4 separate regions of the Homo sapiens genome follow, and all the other regions are linked to region 4. Evidence: promoter capture Hi-C in human tissues and cell types (Jung and others, 2019). All regions are on one chromosome and are shown on one strand. Each heading gives the region's core, a stretch centred on a gene start or on the middle of the fragment in contact. The rest is flanking DNA. Distances are from core to core; before and after follow the strand shown. Region 1 has its middle 2.6 kb from the start of PKP4-AS1. Region 2 has its middle 21 kb from the start of PKP4-AS1. Region 3 overlaps PKP4-AS1 (PKP4 antisense RNA 1). Region 4 holds the start of ACVR1C (activin A receptor type 1C).

Region 1 (2,827 bases), core at 145-2,644, 1.1 Mb before region 4:
ATTCCTGCTTGCAGGATGACAACCTTGATGACAAGGTTAGAAACTGGAGTCTTATCATCGGTAGGACTTTCCTTAAATGAAGGTCTCAACCTCTATCCTGAACAAGTGGGATCTTGCAGAATGGACTCAGGGGCCCGGGTTGGGCAAGGCTGATCCGTGAAAGAGAGTCTAGAGGCAAAACTGAAGTCACAAACAGGCACAGACTGATCAAGATGTCTCAAAGATGCCTTCAAAAAGGTAAGGCATGAAGAGGCAATCCAGGTATAAGACCTTGGGATGGCATCAGATTTGACTTCGAGGCTGGGAGGGGGTTCTGAGAAGTGGGGTTCTGAGAAGTGGCCTTCTGCTCCCGCAGGGCTGCAGTGGTCACAGTGATTGGGAGGGGTTCTGAGAAGTGACCTTCTACTCCCACAGAGCTGTGGTGATCACAGTGATTGGGAGGGGTTCTGAGAAGTGGCCTTCTGCCCCTGCATGGCTGCAGTGGTCACAGTGATTGGGAGGAGTTCTGAGAAGTGGCCTTCTGCTCCCGAAGGGCTGTGGTGGTCACAGTGATTGGGAGGAGTTCTGAGAAGTGACCTTCTGCTCCCAAAGGGCTGTGGCGGTCACAGTGATTAAGCGGTGCAGTGGCTTTTTCTTCCCTGTTCTTACAAAACTGGTTACCTCTTTAAATTCTTAGCTCCACTGAGCTCAGAATCCACCATTTTTTTCCTATTAATGTGGAGTAGAAACTTGTTATCTGGCTCAATATTAATCTGTTTCAAAATCAGCATCAGCACGTCTATTTTCCTAAGTGCTTAATAGAATGAACAACAACTGCCCCTGTCAACTCCCAGCCCAGCGTTCTTCCTACCAAACCAAGCAGCTTATTGCCCACACAGAGGCTGAGTTCATTGAAAAATATTTATTTTTTACCTTTCTGTTTTTACCCTTCTGGCATGGCCTGTGAATGAAACCGGGAGCTGGGGATTTTGTGAGTGTTTCGAGTCCATGTAGCTTCACGACGAACTGCAGGTCCTGCAGCAGGGAGGGCTGGGCAACCAGAGCTTCTCAAGCTGACTCATGCTCAGCTCCATTACTCTAGGATTCAGTTTCTCCAGTTATAAAAATTATGATAGAGATGGAAAGCAAATTAATTGAATGAAGGATGGTTTTCAAGGGCCCCCACTGCACTTGCACAAGCAACTTTCAAGAACTGCAAGCCATATATCTATAGTTTTATACTCTTTTTCTTAAAGAAAACCCCTAAATTATAAATACACAAGCTTCTGTAAAACCTGCTCTATCCCCAGAATGGCATCCAGCTAGTTCAGGGGCACTAAGGGTTCACATTTTGAGAGAAAGGCTAGAAACCATGCCTGCTCTTCTCTGCTTTTGCCAACTCCTTTCTTTTTCTTTTTTTTCTTTTTCTTTTTTTTTTTTTTTTTTGGCCAACACTAAAGAGTTGGAAATGTTGCTATCAACAGCAAACTAACACCAGATATTTATTAACATGATTCTATTGGAAAAGCCACAGAGCTTTGGGTTACAGTGATGTCTATTATTGATGAAGAGATGAGGAGCTTCCACTGTGAAAAATAAAACTAAGCTCATATAAAATTCAACTTGGCTAATTTGACTTGAAGGTTGCAAAGCTGGAGGAAGCCAGGAAGAGGGAAAAAAAGAACTAGGAAAGGCTATGCAGTCGAGAAAGTTTGGGAGACTGGTCTATAGGGCAGGAGGAAGTCATCCCCTTATCACTGGGCCCCTTTGCTCTATAGAGAAGACACTGCCCAGTACCTGTTGATGTTCTGTGTTGCAACTGAGAGCACAATACAGAAAAGACCCCTGTCTGTGCCGCAAGACTGCATGTTGTGGTATGAAGGGCTTCAATCATTCACCATTCATTCAACAGATGTTTTCGTTAGTGTTGCTAGATGCTGGAGACATTATGTCGAGCAAAACAGATGTGGCCCTGGTGTTCCAGTTTGGAGAAGACACAGCCAAGAAAAGAGGCCAGTGCAATTCAATGTGATGTGTGCTGCAATAGGGCAGATACAGCGTATTAGGGGAGCACAAAGAGAGGCATCTGATCCAGCTCTGGGGAGTCAGGAAAGACTTCTCCAGGAAAGCGGGGATCCATCTGAGACCTGCAAAATGAGCAGGCATTCACCAGAAGAAACGAGAAGCGTGTTTAAGGTAGAACAAAGAGGGAAGCAGTCAATGTTTCTGAAGCATCATGGACCAGGTGTGTGGTGGAGTCATGGGAGAAGGATAGAGTGGGCATTATTTAAGCAGATGCTGGCTCATATCGGCTTTGAAAACCTTAGGAAGGAGTGTAGACTTTATCTCAAAGGTAATAACTTTGTGATATCACCCAGATGTTGTGGGGGAGTGGTCTAGAGGGAAGCAAGGCTGGGGATAAAGAGGCTAGTTAGGAGGCTGTGACAATGGAGGCAAAATGTAATGGGGCCCTGGATGGAAGTTGCAAATGTGGATGGAGAGATGAATAAGGATTCAAAAAATATTTAAGAGGCACAATAGACATGCTTTGATAGTTGGTTAGAAATGCAGTGTAATGTGTCCAAGGAATCTAGGATGACCTCAGACACATTTGACTTGAGCAGTTGGGCAGCCAGATGGTAGAGCCATTTGGAAAGACAGTGACTCCAGAAGGAACAGGTTTAGCACTTGTGAACTGAATTGGCCATTAGGTTAAAAGGAGGCTTCAGAATTCACAGAAGGTCAAGTTGAAAGGCCCAAGAAAAACTGACTTATTAAAGTTACAGAGGTCAGGTCAGAGGAGGAAAAGACAGGAGGTTGAGAAGTTCAATCGAAAAGGCGTTCAGAT
Region 2 (2,700 bases), core at 177-2,676, 1.1 Mb before region 4:
CATGGCAATTAGTACATTCACAGTGTTATGCAACCGCCATCTCTGTTTAGTTCCAAAACAATCCCATCATCCCAAAACAGAACCCCACACTCATTAAGCAGTCACCCCCCACCATTCAACACTTTCCCCAGCCCCTGGCAACCACCAATCCACATTCTGTCTCTATGGATTTGCATAACCTGGATAATTCATATACACGGGGTTATACAATACGTGACCTTTTGAGTCTAGCATCTCCCACTTAGCATAACAGTCTACAGGTTCATGCAAGTTATAGCGTGTATCAGTACTTCAGTTCTTTTTACGGCTGCATATTATTCCATTGTATGTGTGTAGCCACAATTTGTTTACGTCTTCATTCGTTGACGGACATTTCAGCTGTTTCTACCTTTTGACTCTTGTGAATAATGTCGCTATGAATGTTTGTGTACAAGGATTTGTCTGAGCACCGGTTTTCAATTATTTTGGGTATGCATGCTGGGTCATGCGGTAATTCTGTGTTTAACTTTTTGAGGAAACGTCAAACTGCTTTCCATAGCATCTGAGTCATTTTTCACTCACACTGGCAATGTATGAGGGTTGCTACTCCTCCACAGCCTTGTTATTGAAGCTTTACTTTTTTGGAGGGGGTGCATTTTTTCTACCTATTTTGTAATTATTAAGCAAAAAGTAGTTTGGTCCTTTCAGCCAAACTTGTCAATCAAGCTTAGAAAACACATAGGATACATTTTGGTGAGCAGAAAGTCTGATTTAATTAATTTAACTAATTAAAAAGGGGTTAACACTGTTTTTCCAATTACTTCATTTACTACAATTTGTACTGAAACTTTACTTTTTAAACCCTTCAGTAACTTCCTCTTGTGCCCAACTCTGACTCTCTCCACACCCAAACCTAACCCATCCCTGCAGCCTACCTCTTATCATGCTATATTGTGATTCTCTGTTCACGTGTCTCTTTGTGTTAGACTTGGCAGTTGCAGACTGGCATTGCTTGTGGGCAGAGAGCCTCTGGTGCCTGCAGAATGTGGACTGGCCACCTCGTAGGTGGGCAATGGGTGTCTAGGAATGTGTTACTAGGAGGGCACAGGGGCGCCCCCTCTTGGCGAGCAGGAATAAGCCTACACACTCTCTCACCTTCCCTGGCCCTGACACTAGCATAACACACTTTATTGACTTTAAAGCGATGAAACGAAGGCAAATGAGACACCAGATGGGCAAGCATGCTGAGCTCTTTGGAGAAAAGAGGCTGTGTAAATCCAAGTCTTTCTTTTATTGAAGAAACAAGGCAAATGACTCCAAATTGTCTTTACTTTATTGTGCCTGAAAAAAGAAAAGTCAGTCCAGATCATGGAAATGGCATTCGGTGGCATCTGAATGGAATCCTCATGCACTAAATGCAAGACTTATGGGCAAGCTGTGAGTCTGGGGTGCTGCACTGTCATCTAGTGATGAGGTGAGAGTGTGCCCCTGCATGACTAAGCCCTTCCTTTTCATTTGTTGTCTGTTGCTGTAAAATTGGAGGAGCATATGAATCCTTCCTGCTGCCCACGTGAGAACATTTGTCACTTCCCATTTATCAAAAGACACCACAAAGGTGCTAAGCTCCAGCAAGGCAAAGGTAAATACAATCTCATCCTACTCTCAATGTGTCCACATGTCAGATGCCACATGCTTTGAAGCCACATACCTGGAATATTTTGAAAGAAAGAAATCTCAGTGGGAAGGAATATAAAATTTGCTTGCAGGCACACATGAAAGATATGAGCAGTTACAGGTCCTTTATTTGGGTTTTATTTGGTCAGTTGGGTCCCATCGTTAGACAAAAAGCTAAATATTTTTCACATGTGTTGGCAGTTTTAGGGCTGTTATAACATTGACTTTTCTAGTACCAATAGATGGGCAGTACGTTAAGTCAGAGAGAAGCATTTGACTATGAGCTTTTCTCAACTGAAGTTACAATAGTTTCCCTTTATCTGTGGGTGATACATTCCAAGACCCCCAGTGGATGCCTGAACCATATATATATTATGTCTTTTGCTATATATATGTACCTACGATAAAGTTTAATGTATAAACTAGGCACAATAAGAGATGAATAACAATAATAATAAAATAGAACAGGCCAGGCACAGTGGCTCACACCTATAATCCCAGCACTTTGGGAGGCTGAGGCGGGTGGATCACCTCTCTACTAAAAATACAAAAATTAGTCGGGCCTGGTGGCAGGCGCCTGTAATCCCAGCTATTCGGGAGGCTGAGGCAGGAGAATGGCTTGAACCTGGGAAGTGGAGGTTGCAGTGAACCGAGATTGCACCACTGCACTCCAGCCTGGGCAACAGAGCGAGACTCCATTTCAAAAACAAAAAAGAAACAAAACAAAACAAAAAAACCAACCAAACAAAAACAAACCCTAGACCATTCTGTCCACACAGGCATCAGCTTCTTATCAAATATTTTCCCATCAGAAATAACTTTCCCTTCCCAAGATGACTTCTGGCTAGTTGATTTTCTCCAGCTCAGCATCCTTGCTTTGCAAACCCAATCAAGCCTTAGGAGCTCTGTGCTGGGAAGCTAATCCTGGGAAGCTTCAGTAAGACCTGCGAGGATTTGTGCACCGCTCAGACGTCCATTTCAATATTCACGACCTGTATTTGGCATTTTCAATAAAATTCAAAAGCAAATGGCTTTCCACCATTACAG
Region 3 (2,738 bases), core at 174-2,673, 1.1 Mb before region 4:
GTACACTACAAATGGCTAAAGTGGTTAAAAAAGTAAAAGGCTAGAAAATGATATATTACGCAAACATTAATAAAAGGAAAGCAAGATTGGTTATATTAATATTAAAGTAAATATCAAAGGAAAGAAAATTACCAGAGACAGAGGAGGATGTTATGTCATGATAAAGGGTCAATTGCCAAGAAAAAAGTGGCAACTCTAACTGCATAGGCACCAAACAACAGAGCTCCAAATATGGATAGCAAAAACTCACAGAATAGACAGGAGAAATAGGAAAATCCACAACTGTATTTAGAAAGCACAACACGCCTCTCTCAAAAATTGATGTAGACCAGGCACGGTGGCTCATGCCTGTAATCCCAGCAGTTTGTGAGGCCAAGGCATGCAGATTGCTTGATCCCAGAACTTTGAGACCAACCTGCACAACATGCCAAAACCCCATCTCTACCAAAAAAAAAGAAACAACAACAACAAAAAACACAAATTAGCCAGGTGTGGTGGCGCACGCCTATAGTCTTAGCTACTCAAGAGGCTGAGCTGGGAGATTACTTGAACCTGGGAGGAAGAGGCTGCAGTAAGCTGAGATCGTGCCACTGCACTCCAGCCTGTGCGACAGAGCAAATCCCTGTCTCGAATAAATAAATAAATAATTGATGAAAAGCTAAACAGAAAATCAGCAAGGATAGAAGAACTCAGCAAATATTAATCAACAGAATCTTATCAACATTTATAGAAAACTCCATTCAAGGCCAGGCGCAGTGGCTCATACCTGTAATACCAGCACTTTGGGATGCCAAGGCAGATCACTTGAGGTCAGGGGTTTGAGATCAGCCTGACCAACATGGTGAAGCCCTGTATCTACTAAAAAAAAAAAAAAAAATTAGTCAGGTATAGTGGCGGGCGTCTGTAATCCCAGCTACTTGTGAGGCTGAGGCAGGAGAATCGCTTGAACCCAGGAGGTGGAGGTTACAGTGAGCTGAGATTGTGCCACTGCATTCCAGCCTGGGCAACAGAGCAAGACTCTATCTCAAAAAAAAAAAAAAAAAAAAAAAAAAAAGAAAAGAAAAGAAAACTCCATTCAGTAACAATAGAATACATGTTGTTTTCAAGGGCCCACAGAACGTTATACCAAGATAGACCATATCCTGTACCATAAAACAGACCTTAAGAAATTTAAAAGAATTGAAAACATACAGAGTATGTTCTCTGACCCAGTGAAATCAAACTAGAAATCAATAACAGAAAGATAAATGGAAAATCTCCAAGCACTTGGAAACTAAACAGCACACTTCAAAATAATCCATGGGTCAAAGAGGAGGGCTCAAGGAAAATAAAAACTACCCTGAAGTAAATAAAATGAAAATACAACATCTTGGCATTTGTGGGGCACTGCTAAAACAGTGCCAAGAAGGGAATGTATAGAACAAAATGCTTACATTAGAAAAGAAGGAAAGTCTGAAATCAATAACAGAAGCTTCCAACTCAAGAACTTAGAAGAGCTCAAAATAAACCCAAAGCAAACAGAATGAAGGAAATAATAAAGGTAATATCTGAAATCTATGAAATTGAAAATAGAAACACAATAGAGAAAATTGATGAAACAGAGGTTTTATTTTTTTTGAAAAGGTCAATAAAATAGTCAATTTTAAGAGTAAAACTGACAAAAACAGAGAGAAAACACAAACTGTCAATATCAGCAATGAAAGAGGGGCTATCACTACAGACCCTGCAGTTATCAAAAGGATAATAATAGACTGTTATGAACAAGTCTATATACATAGTTTGACACCTTAGGCTGAATGAACCACTCCCTCAGAAAAACACAAATTACCGCAACTCACCCAACATGAAATATATAATTTGAGTAGACCCTATAATAATTAGGAAATTTAGGCCAGGCACAGTGGCTCATGCTTGTAATTCTGGCACTTTGGGAGGCCGAGGCGGATCACCTGGGGTCAAGGGTTCGAGACCAGCCAGGCCAACATGGCAAAACCCCATCTCTACTAAAAATACAAAATTAGTGGGGTGTGGTAGCACGTGCCTGTAATCCCAGCTACTTGGGAGGCTGAGGCATGAGAATCGCTTGAACCAGGGAGGCAGAGGTTGCAATGAGCTGAGATCCTGCCGCTGCACTCCAGCTTGGGGGATAGAGTGAGACTCTGTTTCCAAAAGAAAAGAAAAGAAAAGAAAATTAGGAAATTTAATTTCTAATTTAAAAACTCTCAGAAAAAAAATCTCCAGGCCAGATGGTTTCAATGGAGAATTCTACCAAATGTTTAAAGAATAATTAACACCAGTTCTACACTATCTCTTCCAGAAAGTAGAAGAAAAGGAAATATTTACTAATTCATTATATGAAGCTAGTATTACCCTGATATCAAAGCACAGTGAGATACACCCTTATAAGAATGGCTAACATAAAAAATAGTGACAACATTACAGGTTAGAGAGGATGTGGAGGAACTGATCACTTCTAGATTGCTGGTGGGAATGTAAAATGGCATAATCATTGTGGAAAGCAGTTTGAAAGTTTCTTTAGAAAAAAAAAGAAACATGCAATTACCATATAACCTAGCAATTGCACCCTTGGTCATTTATCACAGAGGAATGAAGACCTATGTTCACACAAAAACCTATATGTGGGCTGGGTGTGGTGGCGCATGCCTGTAATCCCAGCACTTTGGGAGGCCGAGGAAGGAAGATCCCTTGAGCTTAAGAGTTTGAGACCAGCCTGGTGA
Region 4 (2,700 bases), core at 135-2,634:
GTTTTGTGGGTGTCTGAAAGGGCTCAGATTTGTCCCACATCTCCAGTTTTTTGTTTGTTTGGATCCAGGATAAAACAAGAACAAAGTTTTTTTGTGCTTAGGAATATAAGATGGTGGCAGAAAAGATCCTCAGGATGCCACCCACATCTCAAAGTCCAACAACCATCTCATCTCCCATACTGTGATCCTTTGATAATAAAGTCAATTACATACAACATTTCACCATAGGTCTTTCATAGAACTTAGAACACCTAGCATATAATTTAGTCCTGAGCTAGGTGAAGAAGCAAGAAATGTTTTACTCTAAAGCAATTTTTATGACGCTATCACTTTTCAAGGAACCCCCAACAGTAGTAATAACACCAGTATTGTATTCTTGCTTTTTCGCGTTGTTCAGATTGAAATAATCCCATTCACTTTAATGTTCAGGCTCCATAGGTGAATTGAATTTAATTTCTATAAATTGGTAATGTTGCCGTTGTCCTTATATTTTCAGGCACAATCCAGGCCTTATATTTTCAGGCACCCGTTTGACAGTTAGCCTCTAGGGATTAAACAATACTCAAACAAGTTTTTCATATACTACTTTAAACAATTCTTCCCCTTCCCTTAATCCGTGTGTGTGTGTGTGTGTGTGTGTGTGTGTGTGTGTGTGTGTGTATGTTCCCTTAGTTCTTCAATTGCTGAAGTTGTAGCTGCCGAAATTATCTTCCATAGGTGAGGTCTTTTACCACCAGACGTGGGTCACACATTGTAGATGGCCACATCACCTGGCGCAGGTGGTCCAGCTTTGGTCGCCATTCATAGAGGGAAGGGTTCCCAAAAGGCACCCAAGAAGAGATGAAGTTTGTTAAACCAAAGCTTATAGGTCCAGAAGGCAGTCGGACAACTGGTCATTTCCAGGGATGAACAGAGAGGGCGCCCTTCCCCAGAGGCACAAATGGCCAGGACGCAGGGGTGGGACAAGCCAGTAGGAAGCCCGCGGGGCTCTCACAGCGCAACCTGGTTGGACTTAAGGACCCTGGACAACAAACGTCAGGAGAGCTAGGAGGCTGGCTCTTCTGCGGGAGGTTATAGAGCGGATCACCTGGGCGCAATCGCCGCGTAGTTGAAGTTTCCCTAAAGTCTCAGTGGGGCTTTTCCTCCCGTGAGAAGCCCCATTCCTGAGTATCTAGTCCCGGAGGCTCCGCACTGCTTCCCCACGCCCCCTCTTTCTTCGCCCCAGCTCTGGGCGATCTCACTGCCGGGCACAGGGCCGCCTTTGCCTGCCTGCCCTGCAGCAGCAGGCCCGGGCGGCTGCGAGAGGGCGCAGGGGGCGGAGGCGCGGCAGGGGCGGGCTCTGCCGCCCGCCCCACCACCCGCTCCCCGCCCGGCTGCGGGGCCAGTGGCAGGAGCGCCGCGCACCGCCAGCCGCAGGGGGCGTGGGATGGGGGCGGCCGGGGAGGGGGGCGCCCACACTGACTAGAGCCAACCGCGCACTTCAAAAGGGTGTCGGTGCCGCGCTCCCCTCCCGCGGCCCGGGAACTTCAAAGCGGGCCGTGCTGCCCCGGCTGCCTCGCTCTGCTCTGGGGCCTCGCAGCCCCGGCGCGGCCGCCTGGTGGCGATGACCCGGGCGCTCTGCTCAGCGCTCCGCCAGGCTCTCCTGCTGCTCGCAGCGGCCGCCGAGCTCTCGCCAGGTACGGTGCTGGTTTCTCTCCCGACGCCCGCGAGGGTGGGAGCTGGGAGGAGGTCTGCGGGTGAGCACGGGGGTGGGGGACAGGGGGTGCTCCGAGCAAACTGACCTTCGGGGCGGACAGGGAAGCGCCAGTCGGATTGAGGGGGCGCGGGATAGGGTGCAGCGTGGGCACCTGACGTCTGGCAGCCGTAGGGGTAGACAGGTGTGTTGGGGACGAAGCCGCCCGGAAGAGGGAAAAGGCAGCAGGGACGTGGGGGAATAAGTAGTAGGGGTGAGGTGGGTGACTAATTTGTGGGCAGTTTGCAGCGGAGAAAATAGGAGAGCGTTTGTGGGTGCGCGCATGGCTGGGAGCTGGGTTCACCCTGCAGGGACCTGGAGGGCTGCAGGTATGCGTCGGACGCGCTCTGTGCTAAGCCCCTGAGAGCTGCTCAAGGATGGTGGCATGGTGGTGGTGGGAGGTGGTGATTTAGTCTGAGTTTTAGGAGGCGGGGAATACCCCAAAAGCCGCAGATGCCAAGCTATGGAGGCGAGAGTGGGAGCTTAAATCTGTGTGGTTTGCAACGCACATTGCTTTCGAGGTACGATCTTTACTCAGAGTTCCTGGGGAAAAAAATTCTGGCAAGCGCCCCAGAGTTTATAACAGGTCTGTGCCTTGATAGGCTAAATAGAGCCCTCTACCCAATCTAGAAGCCAGACGTTTCTTTATAATGTTTACTAGAAAGTGGGGCAAATGCATCTTTGGTAAAATCATAATATGCTGTGACTAAAAGCCCTTTACCTCGAAAACTATTTTCATTACATTGTCCTGGATTATGCAGAGGAGGAGCAGATTCTTTGCTAACTCATTCTTTAAAAATTTCTATCAGACATTGAAGACATTTGCACATAAAAATCTGGTGTTTTCCCATAGAGCTGTGTTTTGTCCGAAGCTGATTTTGATGCATTTTGTTTTCCCAGATGACAATCTGTTTGACATTAATAGCTATATTCATGGTGGGTCGTTTTCCTCTTAGTGACATGTGCAA

Evidence for each region. The method cuts DNA at HindIII sites, captures the fragments that hold promoters and counts their contacts. A contact is called where the count stands out against the background at its distance.
Region 1: a fragment that was not itself captured here is called in contact with the fragment with the promoter of ACVR1C in region 4 in 1 of the 25 tissues and cell types used here (spleen).
Region 2: a contact is called between a fragment that was not itself captured here and the fragment with the promoter of ACVR1C in region 4, in 1 of the 25 tissues and cell types used here (dorsolateral prefrontal cortex).
Region 3: a contact is called between a fragment that was not itself captured here and the fragment with the promoter of ACVR1C in region 4, in 1 of the 25 tissues and cell types used here (lymphoblastoid cells).

Annotation. Positions count from the first base shown.
Region 1 is chr2:158,736,166-158,738,992 of GRCh38, reverse strand. No RefSeq gene overlaps it. Among named protein-coding and RNA genes, the nearest start is that of PKP4-AS1, 2.6 kb to the right of the region's middle. The HindIII fragment of the contact is 3,985 bases long and covers 1-2,827 here.
Region 2 is chr2:158,754,323-158,757,022 of GRCh38, reverse strand. No RefSeq gene overlaps it. Among named protein-coding and RNA genes, the nearest start is that of PKP4-AS1, 21 kb to the right of the region's middle. The HindIII fragment of the contact is 3,473 bases long and covers 1-2,700 here.
Region 3 is chr2:158,708,890-158,711,627 of GRCh38, reverse strand. The region is part of intron 1 of PKP4-AS1 (PKP4 antisense RNA 1); the gene reads left to right. Among named protein-coding and RNA genes, the nearest start is that of PKP4-AS1, 25 kb to the left of the region's middle. The HindIII fragment of the contact is 3,816 bases long and covers 1-2,738 here.
Region 4 is chr2:157,627,548-157,630,247 of GRCh38, reverse strand. ACVR1C (activin A receptor type 1C) reads left to right here and starts at 1,384. Exons shown (of 9, transcript NM_145259.3): 1 at 1,384-1,676. The coding sequence starts at 1,604. RefSeq lists a silencer at 1,440-1,669. The HindIII fragment of the contact is 14,203 bases long and covers 94-2,700 here.